Regions from separate parts of the Homo sapiens genome. Here all the other regions are linked to region 1. Evidence: promoter capture Hi-C in 16 types of primary human blood cells and fetal thymus (Javierre and others, 2016). All regions are on one chromosome and are shown on one strand. The core of a region is centred on a gene start or on the middle of the fragment in contact, and the rest is flanking DNA. Distances in the headings are between cores, read along the strand shown.

The links. The method cuts DNA at HindIII sites, captures the fragments that hold promoters and counts their contacts. A CHiCAGO score of 5 or more calls a contact.
Region 2: a contact is called between a fragment that was not itself captured here and the fragment with the promoter of KCNQ5-AS1 in region 1, in 2 of 17 cell types (total B cells and naive B cells). The highest score is 5.4, in total B cells.
Region 3: a contact is called between a fragment that was not itself captured here and the fragment with the promoter of KCNQ5-AS1 in region 1, in 5 of 17 cell types (total B cells, naive B cells, naive CD8 T cells and 2 more). The highest score is 9.5, in total B cells.
Region 4: a contact is called between a fragment that was not itself captured here and the fragment with the promoter of KCNQ5-AS1 in region 1, in 8 of 17 cell types (total B cells, naive CD8 T cells, naive B cells and 5 more). The highest score is 9.9, in total B cells.
Region 5: a fragment that was not itself captured here is called in contact with the fragment with the promoter of KCNQ5-AS1 in region 1 in 17 of 17 cell types (naive CD8 T cells, total CD4 T cells, naive CD4 T cells and 14 more); the score reaches 16.4 in naive CD8 T cells.
Region 6: a fragment that was not itself captured here is called in contact with the fragment with the promoter of KCNQ5-AS1 in region 1 in 17 of 17 cell types (naive CD4 T cells, naive CD8 T cells, naive B cells and 14 more); the score reaches 33.9 in naive CD4 T cells.
Region 7: a fragment that was not itself captured here is called in contact with the fragment with the promoter of KCNQ5-AS1 in region 1 in 12 of 17 cell types (naive CD8 T cells, non-activated CD4 T cells, total B cells and 9 more); the score reaches 9.4 in naive CD8 T cells.

What each region holds. Positions count from the first base shown.
Region 1 is chr6:73,141,620-73,145,465 of GRCh38, forward strand. It overlaps KCNQ5-AS1 (KCNQ5 antisense RNA 1), which reads right to left and starts at 1,895. Exons shown (of 5, transcript NR_046621.1): 1 at 1,807-1,895. All of the region lies in intron 10 of KCNQ5 (potassium voltage-gated channel subfamily Q member 5), which reads left to right. The HindIII fragment of the contact is 1,820 bases long and covers 1,608-3,427 here.
Region 2 is chr6:72,317,191-72,321,036 of GRCh38, forward strand. All of the region lies in intron 28 of RIMS1 (regulating synaptic membrane exocytosis 1), which reads left to right. It also overlaps the pseudogene LOC100418957. Among named protein-coding and RNA genes, the nearest start is that of KCNQ5, 300 kb to the right of the region's middle. The HindIII fragment of the contact is 3,193 bases long and covers 566-3,758 here.
Region 3 is chr6:72,346,217-72,350,062 of GRCh38, forward strand. The region is part of intron 29 of RIMS1 (regulating synaptic membrane exocytosis 1); the gene reads left to right. Among named protein-coding and RNA genes, the nearest start is that of KCNQ5, 270 kb to the right of the region's middle. The HindIII fragment of the contact is 1,498 bases long and covers 1,486-2,983 here.
Region 4 is chr6:72,363,815-72,367,660 of GRCh38, forward strand. All of the region lies in intron 29 of RIMS1 (regulating synaptic membrane exocytosis 1), which reads left to right. Among named protein-coding and RNA genes, the nearest start is that of KCNQ5, 260 kb to the right of the region's middle. The HindIII fragment of the contact is 2,209 bases long and covers 772-2,980 here.
Region 5 is chr6:72,390,380-72,394,225 of GRCh38, forward strand. RIMS1 (regulating synaptic membrane exocytosis 1) reads left to right here. Exons shown (of 34, transcript NM_014989.7): 30 at 219-357; 31 at 2,319-2,431. Among named protein-coding and RNA genes, the nearest start is that of KCNQ5, 230 kb to the right of the region's middle. RefSeq lists a silencer at 335-535. The HindIII fragment of the contact is 2,229 bases long and covers 781-3,009 here.
Region 6 is chr6:72,410,176-72,414,021 of GRCh38, forward strand. No RefSeq gene overlaps it. Among named protein-coding and RNA genes, the nearest start is that of KCNQ5, 210 kb to the right of the region's middle. The HindIII fragment of the contact is 1,699 bases long and covers 1,120-2,818 here.
Region 7 is chr6:72,428,180-72,432,025 of GRCh38, forward strand. No RefSeq gene overlaps it. Among named protein-coding and RNA genes, the nearest start is that of KCNQ5, 190 kb to the right of the region's middle. The HindIII fragment of the contact is 1,633 bases long and covers 869-2,501 here.

The DNA of each region.
Region 1 (3,846 bases), core at 645-3,144:
TCTGAATGGATTTCATCTCCTCCCTTCCAGCAGAAACTGAGCTGCCAAATGACCTTCGAGTGCTGCCTTAACCATACCTTTTGGCTTCTGTAGATCCAGGTTTCATTGAGAAACCCAGGGTTATAAACTGGAGCCCTATATTTTGTTTCATCAGCAAAGTGTGTGTGCATGTCCACATTGATACTTTAAAATGAATCTGAATGCTGTATTAGTTATCTATTGTTACATAGCAAATTACCCTCAATTTAGTGGTTTGAAATAACACATACTTATAATCTCACAGTTTCTATGGTCAGGTATCCAGAAGCAGTTTAGCTGAATGGTTATGGCTCAAAATCTCATATGAGGTTGCAGTCAAGCTCTTGGCTGGAGATGCTGGGAGAGGACCCATTACCAAGCTCAACTGAGCATTTGCTAGCAGGCCTTTTATTTCCTTGCCACATTATTCACACCCTAGGTTGCCTGAATGTCCATATGACATGCAGCTGGCTTCCCCCAGAGAGAGCTGAGAGAGTACGCAGAGAGAAGCTGCAGTCTTTTATGACATAAGCTCAGAAGTGTTATGCCATCGCTTCTTTCATGTGTAAGTGGTCACAAAGACCAACCCTGTACAGTGTAGGCAGGGACTATACAGGGGGGTAATACCAGGAGATGAGGGCCACTGGGGACCATGTTAGAGTCAGGCTACCACAAATGCCTTCAGATAGATTATGTCTTTTAAATTGCAGATTTCAACCAGTCCCTATTGTCTTTCCAGGAACCCAAACCACCAATTCCCCATTCCTTTCGACCTCTCCGTTACCTACCTGCCTTTAACGACATGGGTTTATAACTTCTGGTCTAACCATTTTATGTCCAGTATCCTTTGTATTATATCTCAAAAAAAAAAAAAAATCCTGGCCTCAACCTATAGCTACGCAATTATATTCCACTCTTAGTGCAGACTCTCAAAAGGAATATTAACAAAATATTGAGTATGTGATTACTGCAGCAACAAGTTAAATAAAATGAGGAGGCCAGGTGCGATGGTTCATGCCTGTAATCCCAGCACTTTGGGAGGCTGAGGGGGATGGATCACCTGAGGTCAGGAGTTCGAGACCAGCCTGGTCAACATGGTGAAACCCTGTCTCTACTAAAAATACAAAAATTAGCCAGGCGTGGTGGCGGGCACCTGTAATCCCAGCTACTCAGGAGGCTGAGGCAGGAGAATCACTTGAATCCAGGAAGAGGAGGTTGCAGTGAGCTGAGATTGCACCCTTGCACTCCAGCCTGGGCGACAAGAGCAAGACTCCATCTCGAAAATAAATAAATAAATAAATTGAGGGAGCAGGACATGAACTAGTCAGTTGCAAAACCAAAGTGTCATAACTTCTAACGCAGCTCTCTTTCTTGTACAATGTATGGCCCCTCTTCAGCTTTTCAAGAGGTTGAAGATATGTTCTTGGTTGCTTCAAAGGGCAGAAGCAGAACTAAAAGGTGTGTGATACCAATATTTAGTTCAATATAATGGCAGCTTAGCACTTAGAGACTCCACAGCAATTGAGTGGATTCCATAATTGGAAGCATTCAAATCAAAGTTGGATGATCAACAGTCAGGAATTTCTGGAAGCTTAAGGAGATCAAACCAGAAAACCTCTAAGAAATTTTCTTCCAAATCTGAGTTTTTATAATCTGCTCTTCTGGACCAATGCAAAGTATCTTCCTTAGCCATTAACTCGTATCCTCACTAGCAATTCTATACTAAGAAATAGAAGAGGAAAGCAAGGATTGGCTGAGGAATGCCAGGAGTGAGTTTTCTGTCCTTACCCTAGTTTCACGTCTCTTTGATACCGAGAAAAGTGCTACCCGCTGCTTCTTGCCTCTCATTCCTCCCACTGTTTCTTTTCCACTTTCACTGTCAGCCATAGTCCTTTCTGTCCTAAGAAGTGTATCAGGTGTGTCCCACCCACCATTGTGAGGTTTATGTGTGTGCTCCATAGCGGCTCATTCTTAGAACTTGAATAAGCCCTCCACTGGATTTCAATTCATATCAGAAGGTATTTGAGGGCTGCTACTCAGAGCTAGCATGTTTCTGGGCATTTAGAAGGCAGGGAGGAGGCGTGACAACTGTCACCCCAAAGAACTTACTGTTTGTCTGTAAGTTTTACCACCCCAGCCCACCTCAGTTACAGTATTGATTGGCACTGAGGGGAACAAAAGGCACCTTCCTCATTCTTCAGACTTCATAGTTTTCAGAAATAACCTGTGGGTGACGTCCAAAATTCGCACAAAATAAGCACAAAATTAACCATTACACAAATCACAGAATTTAGCCCATATTTAAGAGAAGCACTTTTCAGCTGCATGGTGATTTTTCCTTCATATATCTCAAATTATTTCCTTCAAAGTCACACTTAGTTGTCTGCTGCATAAACAGAAACCAATATGACACAATTTTAAAATTATATTTAATCGCTTTCATGGTGTGCTCTACTTGGTAAAGAAGGGGGGAAACAAGGTTAAGTAAAGGCCAGGATCCTTTTTCTGCAATGGATGACTGACATGGGAAAGAGATGAGTTACCCAGGCTTTGCTTTTTGCTACCTGCAGTATAAAACTCCCTGACATTGTCCCAAATTGCTTTTACAGGTATTTTATTTTCAACATCTAATTTGTTCGGCTTTTCTTCCCTTGCCATCTTTTTCTTCTTTTGCCATGTATAATGCATAACAACAATTTCTGAACTCCAAAAGCATAGAAACCTCAGAATAACATTACCTGGGAAAAATTAATCTCTCTACCTCCAGCTACCAAGAGAATCATTTGCACATGAAACCCTGAGATTTGCGTCTTTCATTAATCTAATGCAGTAGCAATTGTTATACCACATCGTTCTATTGGAATTGATGACTAATCATTCCCAAAACTCTTTTGAAACTATTGTTCCCATAATTTTGTGTTTTGATTGAAAAATGTCATGACCCTATATCTCTTCATGTTATCTGTTGCATAGCTAACCCTCTCCCTCAGATTTAGTGGCTTAAAACAGCAACCATTTGTTTAGCCCACAATTCTGTTAGGCAGTTCTTCTGGTCTTAAGTGAACTGACTCATGCTCTGTGTTCAGCTGCTGTGTTGGCTGGTGCTGACTGGACTAAGGTGGTCTCAGTTAGAATTACTGCTCTTTGCTCATGTGGTCTCTCATCCTCCAGCAGGCTGGGCTGGTTCACATGGTGGTGGTGGGTTCCCAAGAGCAGTACATTGATATCTGAAGGCCTCTTGAAGTTCAGGCTCAACCTATCACAGTATAATGTCCACTATGTCCTGTTGGTCAAAGCAAATGGCAAGGACAGCCCACATGCAAGAGACAGAGAAAGAGATTCCACCTCTTCATGTGAGAAGCTGCAAGTGTCGTGGCCAGTATTGCAATCTACCATCCCAGCCATTTAAAGCTTATTTGCTTTTAGTATTTTCAACATCCTGTTGGTTCTATGAAGACAGTGTCAGTGTCTAATTGACTTTTTTATTTCTCCCTGTAGTATCCTTCACTCAAAGAGCCTAAGAAAGAAAAGGAAAATAGCATTGTTAGCACCTCATGTATCGAGGCATTGGCTAGACATTTTCTATGAATTGGCTCATTTAATACACACATAGCCATTTTGCAGATAAGGAAATTGAGACTCAGAAAATGTAAATAACTTGCCCACATAATTCAGTCTAAATGCCAAAACTGGGGTTTGAAGTTGCACTTAGGTCTAAGTTCAAAGCTTTTTATGTTCTACCATGCATGCTGCTTAGCATGTTTTCTTTCATATAATTCATGCTGCTAATGAAACAGTATAAACCAGCTGTATGTTAACTGCTAGTGA
Region 2 (3,846 bases), core at 912-3,411, 820 kb before region 1:
ATGCTGAAGCCCTCACGGGGTGGCAGCAGGGGACTGGGAGCATCTCGCAGCAAGTAGGGCCGCAGGTCCTTGGTGAAGGCTCCACATGCACCCCAGTTCTGCCAGCACCTGCACAGGGCTGTGTTCTGCCACCATAGCGACTCTGCTGGGATCAGGCTTATGTCGACCGCCCAGAAGTTGCCCTTGGCCTGGAGCTTTGCAGGGTCCACAACTATACATTTAGTAAAATTTGGCATTTGATGTCAGTAGGCATAATAATCAGTAAGCATATACTGAAAGGAATGTTCTTCTATTTATTTGAGGATTTTAAAACAATATAGATTAAATTATTTTATATTTTAAGTTGTGATAACAAATATAGAAGTTAATATATTCTGGAATGTCAATCTTGATATTACAGTTATGTTTGAAAAGTGTTATAGAAAATAATTTCAAATGCCCCTTATTTCACAATAGTTCTTCAATTCAGTAAGGCAATACAGGATAAAATTCAAAAGTAATCCTTGGATTTTTGTGATGCATATGAAAATCTTGAGTTAGAGTTATCTATATATCCAATACATGAAGCTTATTATCTACACTGTTCCGAACTTCAATTGCTTTACTACTCTTTTGCCTATTCGATTTGGTATTTACTGAAAATGCTCAGTTAAGATCTATGAAGAGGATTTGTCAACTTCTTTATTATTCTGTCCATTTTTTCTTATATGAGATTACTTAATTAGGTTCAAGTTCAGAATTATTTTGTCTTTCTGGCGATTTAACCTTTTATCATTATGTAATAAATCTCTTTATTCCTTATAATATTATTTTGTTTTAAAGTCAGTTTTTCTTACATGATAACACAAGCTATTTTCAGTTAGTGTTCAATCTAACTATTCACTGTTCACATCTTTTTGTGTCAACTTTTCTATGACCAATGTGTTATACTCACATAAACAGCAAATAGCTAGGTTTAATTTTTTTCTGACCACACAATCTCTATCATTTAATTGGCTAGCTTATCAATTTGCATTTATTTTGATTCTTATAGACTTGGAATTACTTCTATATTGGTGTATGCTTTTAATTTTTCTTATTCTATTTTTTCTCTTTCCTGATCGGTTTTTAATTGAATTATTTTTCTTTCATTTCCCCCCTCCATTACACTGGAAATTATGCAGTTTCTGTGATTTTTACTGACTAGTTTCTCAAGTATATAAATTTTGTTAAGTAGTCAATTTAAAATTAATAATTACCTCTACTTTCTCCTAGGAAAAAAAATGACTGTCATATGCTTCGCTGTGCTACTATCCCTCCCCCATTTGCATATTCTTGTACAATGTTTTAATTATAGATTGGTTCATTTTCCCCTTATTGCATGTTATTTTTTTAAATGCCTTATATTAAACCATATGTATTCTAGTTTCTTTGCTAACCATTTTTCGTGCATCTTAGACCTTCATTCTGGATCATTCTCCTCTCTGAGAAAAGTGCATTAGAAAGCCACCAGTGAGGGTCTGTGAGAGCTTAGACTGAGACACACGTTTTTCCTTGTTGTTCTTTAAGGGTCTTGACTCATGAGGATTTCAGTTCTAACTCCTCACTAGACCTGAAAGGTTTCCAAAGATTCATCATTCACTTACCGACCTGTTTTAGTTCTCGTTTGGTTTTTGGCTAAGGACATATGCCTTTCTTTCTTGTGACCTCAAGTTGGTATTTTAACAGGCATTTGTTGTAATTTTCCCATCATAATTACTAGGCATTTGGAAGTGAAAGGATTTTTTAGAATCAGAATATATCATCTACCATACTGCCAGAAATAGTTCATATTTGATGTGTTACCATTTTTTAAAATTTTTTTTTAAATTTGCTTACTTGAAAAGGATAATATTTAAAAATAATTAATAAATAAGAAAAAACATGTAGGTGTGAAAAGTAAGAAGGATCATGGCCCTAGAGACTTTATCCCAAGTTAGAGGGCAAATGCCAAGGCAGAGCAAGCAGAGTTGGATGTTAAACTGGAAGTAATATCTAAGGGGCTTAAGAAAAATAACAATCAGGAACATAGAAGGAGATGGTGAAGGGAGCCAAGAACTGGAAAACTTTCAGGAAAGAAGAGAGTGCCAGCAGAGACAGGACCATTTCAGTCATGAGGTGTAATGGAAGGAGGAGAATGAAGAACTAATGTGGGAGGTAAAGGTTGATACAGCTCAAACTGAGAAAGAGATTCTGAAGTCTCAGAGGATATTGAATATAAGGGAGAAGAATGAAGTGAGCCTGAAGTTAAGGGAATGGTTAGTGATTGCTGAATAAACAGCATCTTGTGATCAGAGTTCCTATGCCAGGACAATGTGAAGACTACCAGCCTGCCCTTAAAGACTGCTTTTGACTCAGATGTGAATCTTTGGTTCTGTCAGCTATGGCTCAGTACTTCTACTAACCAATATTGAGAGCTTCATTCAACAAGTGTACAACTTCTTTAGACCTTGATTTTTTTTCACTTAGTCATAGATTTATTCATTTACTTATTCACCAGTCATTTATTGGGTACATCTTATACGCAGGTGCCGTACACTATCTAGTATAAAACAAAACACATGATTCCTAGATCTATGTTTTTAGTGGATTTTCATACAAGTGTAATAATAATATTAAATGTATATTCATCTGAAAAATGTGAATCATACCTGCCACTCCTACCTTACCAGACTGTTTGAGAATAAAATGAAATAGTGTATATCAGAATACTTTGAAAATATAGCATTTTGCTTTATAACTCAGTTACTGCATACATGGTATGAAGTATTAGATAAGTTACTTTATACTTTTAAGTCATCCTTGAATGTCTTCTGAGAGACGGCTAACACATAATATAGTGCAACGGCATTTAAAATTCGAATTTTGATTACTAATATTTAACTTATCCACTTCACAGTGCTTCATGGTGAGTTGGATGAATTTAACAGTTGGATTTGACACTTGAAGAGTTCAGTTTTATTCGAGTGTTTTTCAAAGTTATGCCCATGGACTGTTGGTGTTCTAATGAACCTTATTGTCTCCAAGAATTGCCTGATAGACAGGAGAAAGTTGTCCAAGGAGCAGGAGAAAAACTAAACGGGGAGGAGAATTCCTAGACTGCAGGACTTCAGCAACTTCAACTAAAGCAGTTCTACTAGTATTTGTTTAGTACAACAGAAGTCTGTGAAGTAGTTTATTTTTAAAAAGGAAGCCAGGCACTGCTGCTTTAAAAACATATTGTAAACCAAAATATATGGCACAGTAAATTCTAGTGCTATTACTTCCAAGGAGAAAATTAAAATATGAGATGTGGTTCTACTTCTCTAGTTATTACCTGTTTTTAAAATTCAGATAGTACCATAATTTGGCTGAAGGATTATGCAATGTATAGTGAAACTTCAGTATAATACACTAAGAAAAAACAAATTCCAAAGAAAAAGAAAACTACTAGAATGTTCTATATTGGTCTTAGTTGGTCTGTTTTTCTACTATATATTATGTTTATTATACACTTGGTATATGAGATAAATACTTATTATTGTTTTTTAGCATTTTAGCTTTAAATAGCATTATATAGATTGTCCAGGGAAATATATATTATTTCCAAGCTCATTACTTCAGCTTGTACAGTTAATAGACTTTATACTATGCTTTTTTATACTACTCTTGATATATGTTCAATTTAAAGCAATATAGTAAAATTTTTAAAGTATATTTTTACTTTATCTTTTTTATTCATTTAGAAAGTCATCATTTAAAGCTTTGTTTCTTTACTCATTTTAACATATGATTACCTTGATTTCAGCTAGACTCTCTTAAAGCATAGACATGATAACCAAGTGCGGA
Region 3 (3,846 bases), core at 985-3,484, 800 kb before region 1:
GGGAACCAAATACAAGGGTAAGTAGATAAAGAAAAGGTATCAGTGACATCGTTCATGAATAGCAGTCAGAGTTAGATTAATCCAGCTAATATTTTTATCTGTTCATTACATGTAGTTAATAGAATACAAGAATAGAATCTTAAGATCTAACGCTTGAGTTCTTCTAAGTCAGTATTTCTCAAAGTTCCTCAAGTCAAGTCCACCTTTGAGGATCTGGTGAAATCTGTTAGTCCTAGCCTCAGTAAATTGCACTTGTTCACATACGCCACTGTGTAAACAAACATGAAAGATGTTTATGAACTCCCAGAAGTATGTTCATCCCAAATTAGGCATAATCTGCCAGACAGAAATCCAAGTTTTCTTTTTGCCAGTTCCCTCCCTTCTGCTCTGTTACTCAGCCTTCACTCTATTAGGTTAGAGGTCACCAAAGTCTGGCTTAGAGTCTGGTTTTTAGGGCCCATGAGAGAATAAATATTTTTATGTTTTTTAAATGGTTTAAAAAAATAAAAATGAGAATAATATTTTGTGATATGTGAAAATTCTGAGAAATCAAATTTTTATGTCAATAAACATAGTTTTATTGAAATACAGCCATCTTCATTCATTTACATGTTGTCTATGGCTACTTGTGTGCTACAAAGTCAGAGACCGCTTAATCCACAAAGTTATAAATATTTACTGTCTAGTCCTTTAAGGAGAACATTCCTTAAGGTCTGCTGTAGGCCAACAACTTAGTGCCTGCAATGCAGAAGAAGGTATTAGTGAACAATAATCATTTCTATCATTGTTCTCTGCTTCTCAGAGTCAGGAGTTAATTTACCCTACTTCCATGACTTTATTTTTTTCCATATACCTGTCATGTTTACATTTATACCATACGTCTATTGATATCTCTTGTTAGACACAGTGATTCTCAGAACGAAGACTTATGCCCCCATAGATAAGACTCTTTATATCTTCAACTTTGCCCTAAAATTGATACCTGGCTTAGCTGTTTACATAAAGTAGTAAAAGCACGTCACTCAACCCTAATTTTCCCAGTTGGGGGCTCAAGGACCAAGTCTGTGATTTCAGTGATTGTATCCCAGTATGTAGCACAAAGCCTGTACCACATACAGAAAAGTTTTCTGGAATGAAAGAAACTTTTGGAAGAGTTTTCTGTATTCCCTTTCTTTCTGAGGCCACTCAGTCCCCCTCACTGCAGTCTGAATTCTGTCTATTCGATTTCCCCAAACTGTTCTTAGTAGATCACAGAAAGTTTATAGATATGAACTTATTTTAATAATTTAACTTATGGTGTAGGCCACAGATATTGTGCACATGTGAAACCAATGTGATGTATGTAACAGAAAAATAGTAAAAAATGTCCACTTTTATTTGACATGAGCAAATGATTCTTATTTATGTTCCATCTCTTAAATGTGTAACTTCATTTCTTTCTATGCATCAGACCTATCTTCCTGGGGTTCACAGAACACAACTTAAAGCTTCTTTCTTTGTACCTCTCTACAGGTGCTCTACCCAGAAAATTCTTAATCTGTCAGTTTGTCTGTCAAAATCTTTCTCTTCATTCAAGCCCTACCCAAATATCAACTTCCTACCAGGACCGAAAGTAATTTTTTTAAGTCCTATAAGACTTTTAGGGAGTTCTCATGTGGTGCTGTTTACATCTGTAGAATTCATGTCACAAAATGAACTCCGAAGTAAATCAAGGGTAATGACCACGCAACAGGTTTTTTCTGGTCTTTCACAACAGTGCATTTAATGCAGAAGAATCTTGATAAACGTCTGTTAGATAGGTGAATGTGATGTTTGCTTAGTCAAAACATAATGCTCAAATGGTAATTAATTGATCAAATCATGGTATAATATTTCATTTAACATTGTGACAAGCAAGCTCTTCTTAGTGGGTAAATTTTTCTTCTATGTTTGGTTTGTTATTCTTAGGAAATAAAAACATGTTTTTTAAGTTGTAACAAGTACAGTTGACTCTTAAACAATGCAGTTTGAGCTTCGCAGGCCCGCTTATACACAAATTTTTTTGTCAAACAAATGCAAATCCAAAATAAAGTATTCATGGGAAATATTATAGAAACCTGCATATGCGGAGGGATAGCTTTGATTTTGGTATACATGGTGGTCATCCTGGAGTCAATCCCCAACGTTTACTGTCGGACGACTGTAGAAGTGATTTGTCTATTACTTTGCAACCTCCCTTTTCCTTTCTTTCTCTTCTTTGCTTATATATCACTTCAAAAGCACCTGAACATTGCTCTCGATAGATTTAACCAGTTAATTCTACCTTATTGCTTTTAAATATTAACTCTTTTATAAGCAAGAATAAATAATTATCATTTTAAGATTTTGATTTTTTAATAGATTCAGAGGGTACATTTGCAGGTTTGTTACATGGATAAATTGCCTAATGGTGAGGTTTGGGCTTCTAGTGTACCCATCACCCAAATAGTAAACACTGTACCCGATAGGTACTTTTTTTCAGCACTCACTCCCTTTACTGCCCTCTCCCCTTTGTGGAACCTCCAGAATTGGTGCTGATTTAACTACTTTACCATTACAGTAAATGTCAAATAAAGTAATATTTTATTAGAAAATTATTGAAAGATAAAAATGTACATTTATGAGAAATAATAATGATTGATAAAGATATTAATTTACAACATCCTTTTATATCATTTATAAAAGGTTTATTAACCTTATGAAAATACTTAAGTATTTAAGCAAAAATGCCCAGATTTTTTGGGAATCTTTCTTTTGTTGGGCATAGGGCCAGAGGAGGCTTGTGAACAAAGGATCTACTGTAACTGCTTTTCAAGTAAGCTAGTGAATTCTTACTTGGGAAACAAACCTCTGATATTGAAGCAGTACATTGTGATACTCATTACAAAATCATTTATACTGTAAAGATTATTTTCTTACAACCGAAAAATGTGGTACACCCAATGATTAGTCATAGTTTTAGTGAAGCTTAACAGACTTTATGTTCTAGGTCTACAAGGAGGTAAAAAACATTCTGTGTTCCAGATTCAAAGTCAGTGCCATAGGATGTTTTTGTAAATGGAAATACCATACTTATTTTTCTCTTAATTTGAAACTATGAAGATTCTGACAAGTAATCAAATAGTAAATAATTATACTACATTTAGGAAAGTTTCAACTGAAAGAGATTAAAACTTATTTGTAATAACTAAAGTTACATTTATAAATAGGCATATAGTTGCATTGAAACACTGCTATATCTAGTGATGTAATGATGTAAAAGTATATTAGTTGGGAAATATAAAAATTAACATATATATTAATATTTTTATCACTCTGAATTTGAAATTGTAAGAATGAATATTTGACCTGTCTACCTGCATTATGGAAACTGAAAATGGATGTAAATACTCTAATGAGGAAGGATTCTTTAAAGGAAAGGATATTGATTAGAAACTTACCGGAAAGGGTTGATTAGAAACCCACAGGAAAAATAAAGCCAAAACAAAGTTAATCATCTTTAGGTAACTTAACCTGCTGCTGAAAATACTAGTTCCTGTTTATAGTTTCTACCTTGGGAAGTACACTCAACCTATTATTCAATTGTTTTTAAAAAGGAAAAATAAAACAGAAGAATCATTTTAAGAAAATATTACATAAAATTTATAGAGATTTATAACTAGTGTAGGATTCTGTGATCTTCGGCTAATCAAAGAAGAAAACATACTAATTGTCATAGGTTTTGGAGACTTATTGAGAAGATTGTTGTGAATAGCAAGGAAAATAGTAGGAAAAATTTACCTTTGAAGTAAAAATTTACTCTCACTTCAGTTCTTTGGCTTTCTATAA
Region 4 (3,846 bases), core at 626-3,125, 780 kb before region 1:
GGATAATTCGGGTATTAAAAAGCTCCTTCTCAAATCACACCAAGATTTCTTTAACTGATTTTAAAGATTATTTGATTTAGTACTTGGTGGTAGTGTGGGGGAGGAAAGGCAACCTCATCCCACACAGCTTCCCGTTCCTGTGGGCTTAAACACTCCAAGACTGCTGATCCCAGAGGCACCATGCCTTCCTCACCAGATTCCATGGAACATGAGGTGTCTTGAGATGAGTCACCTGGCACCAACTCCTCCACTCTGGGCCTTTCCTTTTGCCTTTTCAAGCCTGGCAATAGGCCAAGCCCTCTCTTTTACTTCTATTAAAATAACTCTATTCTGGCTTTCCTGTTTTTCTGCCCTAATATTGCCAGTGACATCACTTGTTTTCTCTGTGGTTTTTGCATATCTTTATCCAGCTTTTTACACTGTTTTGTAAAAGCTTACTGCCCCTTCTGACACATTATAACGAGGAAATGTATCACTGGGATACATTTCTCTGTTGATCAAGATCTAATTACACCTTTAAAAATAGTCAAGATGGATAGCCATATAAAAATTATTCCATAGAGCATGAGTATCTGAAGGAGGCTGTACTCTATGTGCAGTCCCCGCATGCTACCTGTGAAATGTGAATCGTTTATAGTCTGTGGCAAATAAAAGTTATGTCATTCTAATCTTTATAAAATACTAATCAATTGACTAATTCATGAAAAATTCTCTTATCTTTCTCAAATATTGGCTAAACCACATAGTCCTCCAGCCTTACAAAGTAGAGTAAGCTTCTCTTTGGCAACTGTGTTGGTCAGGCTCCCCTAAAAACAGACCCTGAAACAAAGATTTGAGTGCAAGTAGTTTATTTGAGAGTTGATCCCCGGGAAGCACGAGTATTGATTGTGGGGAAATGAGACAGGGAAAGGAAGTCAAAATACGGTGTTTAATTATCAGATTTCTGCTGTAGGCAATTGGGGTTCTATGGGAGACTATGAGAAGTGTTTCCTCTGAGCGTGAGGAAATTGTAGGATTTATCCAACATCTCTCATTTGTCCTTGGCTATGGGACTGCTTGCAGAGTCACTGACTTCTTCAGGCCTGCTTTCCTTATGCTCACAGCTGACTACACAATTGGAAGGAACCCTCAGCAGAGGGTTGGAGGTGCTTCCAGTAAGACAGCATCCTTGCATACAGGAACAGTGAATGTCTACGGGGCATAGCCAGGATACCAATAGCATCTGCTCCCGTAGTTTTCTACCCAGAGTCTCCACCTAATTGTGTGGTTTGGTCTTTGCACAGAGGTGCCCAGCCAGTGAGGGGCTCTAAGGCACAAAAGTGCTCTTTGCCCAACCACAAGTTCTATGAGGTTATTTCATTTCTGATTTGTTCAAATTTGCAGTATGTGCTTGAGGAAGCCATTCTTTTACGTTCTTTCTCTGTGCCTTCTCTTCCCTGCTGGGGTCCTCTGGCAGGATTTTAACACTGTTTATATTCCACCTTTATTCAGGGCACCCAACCATGGCATTCCACATGGATATGGCAGCCTTCTATAAACCCAGATAAATACTCCAAGTTCTGAGAGGCAGATACATTGTTTACCAAGGTACCAGTAGGCTAAACTTTTGAATTACATAGACTTCATCCCTTGCCATTTCAATTTTAATACCAGTCCTGTCAAAATTCCAAAATATCACTTGCAGTTTTGAGGCAGGTTTAGTTTAACTTGTATTGCTCTACCACTTATATGTCTATTGACTATATAATTTAGCATCCAAACTGGAATATCTTTGTAAGTAAAAGAGGGCCACCATTAGTAATATGCTAGAACAGGCATAAACCAGGATTATCCTGGTTAACCATGAAAAATGATCACTCTTGCTGACTTTTACTCCTTCATGCTGTTGACACAGCCCTGGAGGGAAAAAGAGGAAAAACAGAACACTCTAGACTCTAATGTTTTTAATTCCTTAGTGCCATTATGGAGGTGAGGAGGAGCCACACAGAAATATGCTCTTACGGTAAAATCCTGTTGTTTCCATATTCCTTCCATGAACATGATGTTATAAAAAGAGCTTAAAGAGCTTACACACGTTTGAAGAAGACGGGCCTTAGAATTTGGTTGTGTTTTGGAGGGTTTTGTTTTCACTTGTGGTGGTAGCTGTGACACTTACTACTTCTTAACTCTCTGAACCTCTCATGCATGTAAAACATAGCAATACCAATACCAGAGAATTATGATAAGGGTTAATGGAAATGTGTGTAAAGCTCTAAGCATAAGGCATGGTATGTAAAAAGTGCTCAACAGAAGTTAGAACCTTTTTTTTCTAAGTTTTTCTATTTCCAGTGTTCTAGTGTTTTTCTCGTGGCAGTAGGGTGGGACGTGAAACGACACAGGGAAAGCAGCTGAAACCTATCAGTGTTTAATAAGTATATATTGAAAGTGATAATTTTGACAGCTTAAGTGTATTAAATGTGTATTACAAGTGCCAAGTGAGTACAACACAAGAGATCGATATAGAACCTTCCCCTTAATTGTGTAAAAACCTTTTAAACAAACTTATCCTGGAAATCACGTATTAGCCCTGAGCTTTACTTCTCTGAGATTTCTTACCTAATTGGAGAAGCTATATTATATTCAATAAAGTAGGCAACATATTTTCATTTCATTTGATTTAAATGTCTTTGTTACATAGTTTGTTTAAAATGTTGTGACTGTGGCAGTTTTCAAATTGTGGCCCTTTAGCAGTTTTCAAATTTATGACACATGGCAAATTTGCTTAGTGATGTTACACTTCATGGTCTTACAATAAGCTATAGGAAAGAAGCACTCTTGACAGAAGCAATTTAATTATATTCTGTATATGCATGAGAAGGAGAGAGTGTCGGAGGGTGAGGGAGGAGGAGAGAGAATGGGAGAGAGACAGAGAAGACAGTTCACAGGCAGCTCAGACAGATATTCCAGCCAGCCACCGCACAAGTTATTTAAACCAGGTCAAAGCTTCTTTGGCATTCAGTTTTCCCCAGAGAACAATTTAATGCTGATACTTAATTTTTTCAAGATAGACAAGGTAAGTCTATGTTCCTTATATGTATTTACTAAGTTATAAGGGGAGTTTGTTTATTTATAACTTTTCATAAAACCTAGCCAAAAGCCAAATTTCTATATTTGTCTGAAGCTTTCAGTGTTGTTTAACAGTTTTCAAAGGTAGTGTTATACTTCAGATTGCAAATAATTAAATGAAAATGAAAAAACATAAAAATTATGCAGTGGACGAAATAATTAAAAAATGATGTTGCAACAGTAGATTTATTTATAGCATTGTAATATCCAAATATGATTAACTTTAAAGCTAGACTTACAGGATTTTAAAGCTGGATTTGAAGTTGAGCAGTCCTTAAACTCATTACTACCAAAACATAAATCTTAACGGTATCATAAAGTTATATTTTTCTTTAAAACAACTTTATTCTTATTTAAAATTTGTCAGCTATACTGTATACAATATAGCCCTTCTAGGTACAATTCAGTGCAAATATATGAGCATTTCTTTTGGAAATTCAGAAGTATATTTACTTTGCATTTTGAAATTATCAGTCACATTTTCTATTTAGGCTTCCTAAATTTTGCCTTTTATTTTGTTATTTTCAGGCAAGGACCAGGGAAATGTCAGCTTTTAGATCCAAAGGAAACATATGTGTTAATAATTTGATGAAATTTCAAAAATAGATTTATTTTGTGCTTTCAGAAAAAGTGTGGGTAGAAGTATAACCTCATAATTTATTTCTAGAATCATTTTCTTATTCACTGATACTCTGATGTCACAAACAGCCTGGCTGAAATTGAAAGTGTACAGTTGTCACC
Region 5 (3,846 bases), core at 645-3,144, 750 kb before region 1:
AAACTGTGGCCATGGCATAGCATCCAGTGGTACTCCCCTTAGCCAAGCATACTTTGGCAAGGAGCCTGAATCAAGCAAAGTACTCCCTTAGGTTACTATTTTTCTGATTAAATTTGTAATTATGTGTAAAATTAACTATTGTATTTGCAGGATCAATTGATATTCAGGAGTAAACTGTCTAAATAAAACTTAGAGTTTCTTTTACTCTCTCCTGTCAGAGTCGGGCCACAAAAAGTTAAAAAGTACCATCCAGAGAAGCACAGAAACAGGCATGGCAGCTGAAATGAGAAAGATGGTAAGGCAGCCGAGCCGAGAGTCTACTGATGGCAGCATCAACAGTTACAGCTCTGAGGGCAAGTAAGTGCTGTCAGCACGTCTGCATGGCTGTGGAACCAGGAATTGTGTACTAATCAGTAAGATAACAAAGCCACTGAGTGTTACTGTGCAGCTTCTCTATTTAATCAGAAGTTCAACCATCCATTTTAAACCACCCTGATGGCTTATAAGTAAGTACACATGGACACACCTCTACACCTGGTCATTCATACCTTTCAAAGGGTGAAGAAATTCTGAGTCCACATGAACAAATTGATTTCTTGCATCTAGGAAAGCCCAGACTAGTTCCTTACTGGATGTTTAGTGTACAAATGCCACAGGTAATGGACTCTTTCATATGGGAAACTCATAGTCTGTCCCTGTCACCAAAGTCCAAGTTAAAATTTATAAGTAAGGAACTGATTTCCCATTTTCTTAATTTTCTCCAAGCTATTTTGGACCCTAAGCTTTTCTAAGTCTAACACTGTCATATATGTAAGTTACATTTTCTTGTTTTTAAAACATTGCTGACTCATTTTTACCTTAGGAAATAATCCAGGGTCTATCAGCTTCATTATTTTTCTGACTAAAATGTTTTAGTTAATTCTGAAAAAATAGAATACGATTTTTAAAAATTTACTCTTTTCGATTCTTTTTCTTTTTTTTTTTTTTTTACCATTTCATATGGATCCTGCACAAAACCTGCTTCTTCCTATGCTTGAGAATATTTCTGGTAAAATTGAATTTTTATTGAGGTAGTGGATCTTACAAATAAGTAATTAATGTGTTGTTTTGGATTACATGGAGATTCACCACATATAAATTTTCCATAATTATTTGTTCATTACCATTCACATTACTCATATACCAATTTGATATTTCTAATTTCTTGTCTTTACTGGAATTTTTCTATATTGTTTAGAAAATTTAACAGAATTATGCCAAGTTACTGTTTGTGATATTCCTTCCCATTCCTGAAACTAGTTGGTCTCTGTTTAGTTGGTCAAATGATTGGCTTGTTATGCATGTTTCCAGTAAGGAATATAAGAACAAAAATCAGCAGGTATGAAAGTTACAGAGATAAACTTACTGACAAAATACCCATATTTGATGAAGTAGCATAAAGTAATATACAAATGAGACTTGAACACATCATTTTCTGATATAAAAAAGTAACAAATAAAATTTGCCTCCATCATAAACCATTTAATCTCTTGGATTTATTTTCATGGTCTCTGGATGGGATTATAATCTGTGTCCCATTTAATTTCCTTGGTTAAAAGAAATAATAGATGTGAAAGCACAATGGAAAGAGTAAGTCTCTATAGAAATATGCTCATTCAAAAAATGCTTATTGAATGCCTATCACATAATGAGCATAGTTGTCATTACCCAGTGATAACTACATCAGTCAACAAGAAGAGAACAGGCACTGCCCTTGTGCAGCTTACATCCTGGGGCTATCAGGAAGTTGTATTATAGGAAGAAATACAGATTTTTTAACCAATTAATTTCCATTGGAACCAAATAAAAGTCTCAAATAATTCATCTTTGAATCAATTAAATGTTTATAAATAAGAACTTGAACTATGTTATAACATTTATTCAAGAAATTATTGGCCACTTTAAAAATTTAGCATGAATGTTACCTAATGTTCATGAGCAAGTATCTGTGTGAAGTTTATGATATAAAAATTCGCATCTTATGTTTTTTTGTCAGCAACACATTTATATAAGGATTTGGAACTTGGTATATTAAAAACTATAACTGAGCCCTCTTGAATAGAGCATTAGGTGTTAAATTGAGAGTTTACACCTTTCCTCAGTCAATGTTAAGCCTCATATGCTTGGCTCAAAGGCAATGCAAAGAATCAATTAAAAAAACAGATTGTCTAAGTAATATTTATGTTTCATGATCATAATTAGTCAAGTGGAAACTAGTGAAAAGAATTCTAGAAGATTTCATGGGTTTTTTCCTTTGGTTTTTATCCTTTTGCTGATAGTTTAATATTTCCTGGAGTGCGACTGGGAGCTGACAGTCAATTCAGTGATTTTCTTGATGGATTGGGACCAGCCCAGCTTGTTGGCCGCCAAACCCTTGCCACCCCTGCAATGGGTAAGAATCATTTTTTTTTTCTACAAGAAAATTGATGTTTTGTGTTTGACAAAGTCATTTAAAATATTTAAAATTGTGTAATAGCAATACAAGTGAGAAGCAACATTTTAGCTACAGAGTTACTGTTTGCAAACAACTATTCTAATTTCAAGTGCATTTTTCTAATTTGAGATGTTATGAAAAAAGAAGTAAAATTAGCTATAAATATTTGAATTACCAGAAACCCTGATATAATAGATGTAAATGTAGGACATGGGTGGCATTTCACAGCATGGAAAAAAAAAAAAAAAGACTGTTCAGTAAAGTATAGTAACATAACTATTTACCTGTGTGAAAAAATTAATGGAATTCCCTCACGCCTACACAACTTACCAAAAAAGTTAGTATTTTAGACTCAACTATAAAAAAGAAAAGGGAAGGTGGAGAAAAACACTAAAAAGTACTGGAGAACACTTAAGTTAATCTGTCTGTAATCTTGCAGTGGGAAAGAACTTCAGCAAAATGCATGAAAATAGATCAGCTTGAAGACACAACATAGTGGAATTTCACAATACTGAGGCTTGATAGAAAATCATGCAAGCTTCCTAAGAGGAAAAATAATTTTACAAAAAAACTATCAAAAATCAGATTCTTGCCGGGCGCTGTGGCTCACGCCTGTAATCCCAGCACTTTGGGAGGCCGAGACAGGCGGATCACGAGGTCAGGAGACCGAGACCATCCTGGCTAACACGGTGAAACCCCCGTCTCTACTAAAAATACAAAAAAAATTAGCCGGGCATAGTGGTGGGCACCTGTAGTCCCAGCTACTCGGGAGGCTGAGGCAGGAGAATGGCGTGAACCCGGGAAGTGGAGCTTGCAGTGAGCCCAGATCAGGGCACTGCACTCCAGCCTGGGCGACAGAGCGAGACTCCGTCTCCAAGAAAAAAAAAAAAATCAGATTCTCATTGAGCTCTTCGTATTTTCATTGGATTCTTCAATATACTGGAAGCCAGAAGACTGTTAGCATTACCTTCAGAATTCGGAGGAACAAGAGATTTCCAACCTAGAATACAAAAGCCAGCCAAACTATCAAGTAATTTTGAGGCTACAGTAGGTACATACTCGGCCCCAAGCAAGGCCTCAAATCATTTTCCTCATTTCTAACATTTCTCAGAAAGCTACTTGAAGATTTACTTTGACCAAACGAACTAAACGACTTTTCAAAATTATGAACTAAAAAAAAAAAAAAAAAAGATGGAACCAAAAAACAAATGCTTCCTCACAAGGTAAATATGATTGGGATACCCAGGATGATAGCAAAGGAAGAACTAAAGATAGCTGCAGCTAGGTTTCAAAGCAGCGTTCAAATTGGGTCATGTCAGACTTCATGAGATAAAATCTATAGAATACCTAATGGGTTTGATTTTTATGGAAGA
Region 6 (3,846 bases), core at 719-3,218, 730 kb before region 1:
CAGCTACAGGCTGAAGTAAAAGTATTTTCCAAGATGTTCTTTTGTAAATGTGTAACCCCCCGATGACATAAAGCAAAGTGTGCATGTTGAGTTTGGAAGGGTTGGAGATTTGAGAGCTAGAAGGGTAACAGAGGGGAAAATGTCTAGAAACAGTGGAGGGATAAAGGGCAACTTGGATCAATGGGGAATCCTGTCTCATTCCATAGTAGAGCAATAGCTCAACAATGGTCAGGCTATATCCTAAAGCCAGAGAAACAGTGGTCAGTCATGGTTCAATTTCACTTTTGTGCTCCAATGTTAGAACTAAGTTTTTCAAAAATTTATGACAGGTCACCAAGTTATAAAGGAAATGGTTTATGAGAGCTGGTTCCTGTACTGTAAAACAATTTCCACTTACTCTCCTCTCTCTCCCTGAATTTCATCATCTCCCAAGTGCCCCCCACCCCCAGGCTCTCTGCTTTTTGATTCTTCCATTCTGAAGAGGAGAAGGCAGATCTTCCCCTGCATTCTCTGCCAAGGACTCACCCCCTGCTCACTCATCTGCGTTCTGCCACCACAACTTCATAGGCAGCTAAGATCAGTGCTCAAATTTTAAAGTTGCAACCATTTACCTTGGGATCCTGTTAAAATACACATTCAATTTTAGAAGTCCAAGATGAGGCCTCAGATAATGCATCTCTAACACACTCCCAGGCAGGACCTATTATGTCATTTACGAGGTCTAGTACAAAATAAAAATCTGAGCCCGCATGTTAAAAAATTCTTAAGATTTTCAAGATAGCAACAGCAGAGCGTGAAGCCAAGAGCAGGCCTCCTGAGTGCGAGGGCTGGTGTGACTGCCCAGGACCCAGGCCTATGAAGCCGGTCCCACCTCCAAGTGATGCAGGGGTTGGAGGAGCTCAGTTTGCACAGAAAGATTGAATGCCCAGGCCTGGAAAGCAGAGCCTTGTGACGGGCCACACTTTCCACTGGCCTTTCTATCTACTAAGTAAAACCAGCAAAAACACTCATGATTTTTCAGTCTAGATCTCTGATTCATCGATTAAAATTGATAAGTTGGTGACCCTAGAGTAATGCTCCAGAAATGCACTTCTTTTTCTTTAAAACACTCTTGATGAAAGCTTTCCAATTATAAAGAATTAAGAAACATTCTTTGAGCCTTTCTTTAGACAATGATGGAAGAGGAAGGAGGCAGGACAAATGGGAAGGCCCCAGAACCTTCACTCTTGCTCTGAGCTTTGCTCTGTTTGACGATTTTATTGGGGGTAGGTGAAGGGGGATGTTGATGCGGGTCAGTCAGGCAAATTTCACTTTTGTGAAAAGATAGATGGAGACTAAGAAAGATAGATTCTCTCCCTCTCTCTCTCTTTTTTTTTTTTTTTTTTTTTTTTTGAGACAATATCTCGCTCCGTCACCCAAGCTAGAATGCAGTGGTACAATCATGGCTTACTGAAGCCCCAAACTTCTAGGCTCAGCCTCAGCCTCCTCGGTAGCCGGAACAAAAGGCATGCACCACCACACATGGCTAGTTTTTAAGTTTTTTTTAGAGATGGGGGTCGGACTATGTGGGCCAGCCTGGTCTCAAACTCCTGGCCTCAAGCAGTCTTCCTGCCTTGCCCTCCCAAAGGGCTGCGATTACAGGTGTGAGGCACCACACCAGGCCTGATTCTTTTACTCTAATAGCAACCACAAACCAAATATAACTCTGAGCTACATAAATCCTCTTTCCTAGGAAATCAGGCTATCAGAACCCTAGTTGTTGGAGAGTTAAACAAAGTTCTACCACTTTAGGGTTGGATTGCCTCTCAGTTCCAAAGGTAACAGGAAGCCCAGTGTCAGGGTATCACCTGGCCTCCTGCAATCCCAACCCTCCTCACCTTCCCACGCTGGACTCCTCCCTGTTAGCTGCCATTAGGGCATCAGATGGATAGGAAGTAGGAAAATAGGAAATTCAAAATAGTGTATCTAGTGGCATGTTCTCACCTCCTAGGAGGCTGTGAAATATTTGTGAATTTCCCCTGCTTTATTAACAGGCAAATAGCAGTTGTATTACCTGGTTCTTCTCAAAATTTAGTTTAAAAAGAAATCTCACTCTGCCACACTAGCATTTGGCTCAAAATTATGAACAAGGGTTTGTCTGCAGGCAGGGGCCTCAACCCTGCCCTCTGTTGGTGAGAGCTAGAACCTCATAAAATAAGCGGGTGTAGTGGCGCATCTCAGCCACAAGATGGCAGCAGTGCTTCGTGCAGGTCCGAGAAGACGCTGAATGCAGAGGGATCTTTTGAGAGTCAATGCTGATGCGCTAGCCTTCAGTAGGGAAAATTTAACTAGGACTGACTAAACCTTAAGGTTAAGGACTAATCTTGTGGGGCAACTGCCTTTTATATGGTGTAAAAATATCTGCTTGAGAATACAGTATAAGTATTTTATAATTATATGCATACTCAAATCTTTTTCATCTTTATCTCCACCAAGAATCAATCAAGAGGTTTTGTTTTGGTGAATGAATTCTGAGTTTTGACTCACCTCCCTTGAGATTATAGGTTCATTTCCAGTCCCCAGGTGTGTGTGGTCAGAGAATCTCTGTCGTTTCCACTTATGGAATAAAGTTGCCCTGTCCCTGGGACCAATGCCACCATGCTCAAGCACAGCCATGTGTGGACAGGCCACGCCAAGGCCAAGTACCCGGGACAGGGGGGCAGAGAGGAGGCATGAGCAGCAGGGAGAGAACTTCTCAAGGCTGGACCATGAGCCACCACTGGAAGGTGCGTAAGGGGCTGCGCACTCTTTCCGGGGGCTGCCACAACAAAGTACCCAAAGCTTGTGGCTTAAAACGACAAGAACTTCTTTTTAAAACAAGAACTTATTTTACCGTTCTGGAGGCCAGAAATCTGAAATCAAGGTGACAGCAGACCCACACTCCCTCCAAAGGCCTCAGGGAAGAATGCTTCCTGCCCACTCCCAGCTCCTGGAGCCTACTGGCACTCCTTGACTTGTGGCAGTAGAACTGCAGTCTCTACCTCCATCCTCACATGGCCTCCAGGTGCCCCCTCTCTTCTTTTTTGATCTCTTATAAGGACGTTTGTCATTGGACTTGGGGCCCACCCTAAGTCAAGGCCTTCTCATCTCAATATCCTTACCTTAATTATATCTGCAGTGACCTTTCTTCCAAATAAGATCACATTCAGATGTTCTGAGTGGACTTTTATTTTGGGATGGGGGTCATCATTCAACCCACTACAGGTGGGAGGTAGGAGATTCCTTGACACCACTCTAATTATTCTCACCATGATTATGGAATTTCAATCAATGTGGAGAAAAGCCAGTAAACATCAGGACAAAGCAGCAAAGTTCACCTGACTATGAATGTGGGAGCTTCTAGAGATGCATCATTGGCAAAGGCACCCTCTCTCCCCAGAGATGTCTCTTTGAACCCCTCTGTGGAATCTGTGAAATAACTCCCTAGTAACTTGAACCCACTAGGATTTACAGCATTTCAAAATGTGTGTGATTAATAACAATCTAATAACGACACTCTAATTTGTGTACAAATACCATAATATTAACAAAAATACTATAATACAAACATATTCTAATTCAATTAGTCTTTTGTGGTGAACAGGTATGAGCAATTGGATCTATAACCTCATAGTTAATGAGATTATATAACTATATACCATTGGGCAGAAAAAACTGTGATAATGCTACCTACCCTGCTTGCCTAAGAGAAATGTCTATCAAAGTGTTTTTAAATATATAAAACCCTCTAAGAATGAAAGGTGTGCTTTTCTTTCTCGTCCACTTCTGCAGCACATACAGGCGTGTGTGAGTATGTGTAAACAACAA
Region 7 (3,846 bases), core at 435-2,934, 710 kb before region 1:
ATGAACTTTAAAGTAGTTTTTTCCAGTTCTGTGAAGAAAGTCTTTAGTAGCTTGATGGGAATGGCATTGAATCTATAAATTACCTTGGGCAGTATGGCCATTTTCATGATATTGATTCTTCCTATCCATGAGCATGGAATGTTCTTCCATTTGTTTGAGTCCTCTTTTATTTCATTGAGCAATGGTTTGTAGTTCTCCTTGAAGAGGTCCTTCACATCCCTTGTAAGTTGGATTCCTAGGTATTTTATTCTCTTTGAAGCAATTGTGAATGGGAGTTCACTCATGATTTGTCTCTCTATTTGTCTGTTATTGGTGTATAAGAATGCTTTTGATTTTTGCACATTGATTTTGTATCCTGAAACTTTGCTGAAGTTGCTTATCACCTTAAGGAGATTTGGGGCTGAGACAAAGGGGTTTTCTAAATGTACAATCACGTCATCTGTAAACAGGGACAATTTGACTTCCTCCTTTCCTAATTGAATACCCTTTATTTCTTTCTCCTGCCTGATTGCCTTGGCCAGAACTTCGAACACTATGTTGAATAGGAGTGGTGAGAGAGGCCATCCCTGTCTTGTGCCCATTTTCAAAGGGAATGCTTCCAGTTTTTGCCCATTCAGTATGATATTTGCTGTGGGTTTGTCATAAATAGCTCTTATTATTTTGAGATGCGTCCATCAATACCGAATTTATTGAGAGTTTTTAACATGAAGGGCTGTTGAATTTTGTCAAAGGCCTTTTCTGCATCTATTGAGATAATCATGTGGTTTTTGTCTTTGGTTCTGTTTATATGCTGGATTACGTTTATTGATTTGCATATGTTGAACCACCTTGCATCCCAGGGATGAGGCCCACTTGATCATGGTGGATAAGCTTTTTGATGTGCTGCTGGATTCAGTTTGCCAGTATTTTATTGAGGATTTTTGCATCAATGTTCATCAGGGATATTGGTCTAAAATTCTTTTTTTTTGTTTTGTCTCTGCCAGGCTTTGGTATCAGGATGATGCTGGCCTCATACAATGAGTTAGGGAAGATTCCCTCTTTTTCTACTGATTGGAATAGTTTCAGAAGGAATGGTACCTGCTCCTCCTTGTACCTCTGGTAGAATTCGGCTGTGAATCCATCTGGTCCTGGACTTTTTTGTTGGTAGGCTATTAATTATTGCCTCAATTTCAGAGCCTGTTATTGGTCTATTCAGAGATTCAACTTCTTCCTGGTTTATTCTTGGGAGGGTGTATGTGTTGAGGAATTTATCCGTTTCTTCTAGATTTTCTAGTTTATTTGCGTAGAGGTGCTTATAGTATTCTCTGATGGTAGTTTGTATTTCTGTGGGATTGGTGGTGATAACCCCTTTATCATTTTTTATTGTGTCTATTTGATTCTTCTCTCTTTTCTTCTTTATTAGTCTTCCTAGCAGTCTATCAATTTTGTTGATCTTTGTTGAAAACCAGCTCCTGGATTCATTGATTTTTTGAAGGGTTTTTTTTGTCTCTATCTCCTTCAGTTCTGCCCTGATCTTAGTTATTTCTTGCCTTCTGCTAGCTTTTGAATGTGTTTGCTCTTGCTTCTCTAGTTCTTTTAATTGTGATGTTAGGGTGTCAATTTTAGATCTTTCCTGCTTTCTCTTGTGGGCATTTAGTGCTATAAATTTCCCTCTACACACTGCTTTAAATGTGTCCCAGAGATTCTGGTATGTTGTGTCTTTGTTCTCATTGGTTTCAAAGAACATCTTTATTTCTGCGTTCATTTCGTTATGTACCCAGGAGTCATTCAGGAGCAGGTTGTTCAGTTTCCATGTAGTTGAGTGGTTTTGAGTGAGTTTCTTAATCCTGAGTTCTAGTTTTTGATTGCACTGTGGTCTGAGAGACAGTTTGTTATAATTTCTGTTCTTTTACATTTGCTGAGGAGGGCTTTACTTCCAACTATATGGTCAATTTTGGAATAAGTGCGAAGTGGAAAATGCACCAATATTTTTCTATTTACTACCCAGATTGTGGGAAAATAAATGATCAGAAATCTAATTTTACCTTTTATGTAATAGAGTAATGGTAAACATTATGATTGTTTAATTTTAATGTATTCATTTTTGATAAATGTAATCATGGAGAAAATAACGCCAATCACATAACCACCAGCCCCTACTGAAATGTTCCTAAAGGTGACAGTGTGTTCTGCCAAAACCATATTCACAGTTAGTAAGTATTATGATGCTAAATAACTGGAGTGCATCTATACTGGACTCATAAAAGCACTTTCCTTTTCATCAATAAATCTAGCACATGATTTTCACAAGATAAAAGTGACTTGGGGTTTTCATTTGCAACATCACAGGAACATTAAAATGGTGGTTATAATAACTATATTAAAGCAGAAAACACTGGCCTAAGCCAAAAAAGCAAAGATAGTTGGCCAGAACAGAAAAATACCCAGGAAATTAAAAAATAAATAAAAACAAAGTAAAATTTCATAGTTAAGTGAGTTTTTAAAACAGATTTAATACCTAAAGCTTTGGCAAAACTTTATTTTACTTCATCATCACTGTTTACTTAACGGATAGTAATTTTTTTAAAAAAGTAGAGGCTGGTTGGGTATGGTGGCTCACACCTGTAATCCCAACACTTTGGGAGGCCAAGGCTTGTGCCCAAGAGTTTGAGACCAGCCTGGGCAATATAGTGAGACCCCTCTCTAGAAAAAGTAAAAATGAAAAAAAAATTAGTTGGGCATGGTGGCACACACTGTAGTCCTAGTTACTCAAGTAGCTGAGGTGGGAGGATCAGTTGAGCCCAGGAGGTCGAGGCTGTAGTGAGCTATGATTGCACCACTGCACTCCAGCCTGGGAGACAGTGAGACCCTGTCCAAAAAAAAAAAAAAGAAAGAAAGAAAGAAAGAAAGAAAGAAAGAAAGATGTAGAAATGTAGAAACCTAAGGGCATATTAAAGTGACAACATCTTAAAAGTTTTAAGGCTGTCCAAAATTTTGACAATTGCCAGGTTTACATTTTCATTCACCTCTGTTGAGCGTATTCTGTTCCTTGACTCTTTAGTCATAGGCTCACACTCACATGTACTCAGACCACCTCACCCAACTCATCTGTTCAATATTCTTGACCAACCTCTTGCAACATTTACACAACAGAAGTCAAGTCCAAACAACTATTATCATTGTTTTCAAATCATCTGTGGGATATTTGGATCTTATCCTTAGCCAATTCAGCAATGGTTATGGTTATGAACAAGGCCCAGTAACAGTGAAGATCTTTTGGTGTCTAGTCGCTAAATCAGTGGGACTTGGCCATTGTTATTCAGACATTGCTGTTAGGTCTCCCATGTGTCCCTAAGCTGCCATCCCAGTCCTTCTCACATCCCCCATCCTAATGCCACAGGCTCTTGCATTTTTGCTGTCCCCAAGCTGACATGGACAGAGGTTTTCTTCTGTTTTGTCAATCTTGTATCTCTAAATGAGAAAGGTCCCACTTTCGTTTCAATTCAAACATCTCTGTCCTTTTATTTTATTTCCATTAATGAGGTCATAATATACTCTTCTCTCAGGGTGTACCTCATTATGGAAGCTGTCTGAGAGTCTGAAAAAAACACTATGCTTCCTCAATTTTCTAATGGTCCCCTACATTCTATCATTCTCCCTCCCATGATGGTGCTTCCAGAAGCACCTGGTCTCCTTGGCCAGACATGCCCCAAGAGTCTTCATCATCAAGGAGCTTCCGGTTTAATAGGATAACAGGCTTATAAGCCAGTATTTACACTGCAGCATTGTAAACACTTGCAGAAGTAAATAGGAGGTACCGTAGGAGCAGAGTAGAAGAGGATGCCGACTGTGCCTAAGGGTGTCAGA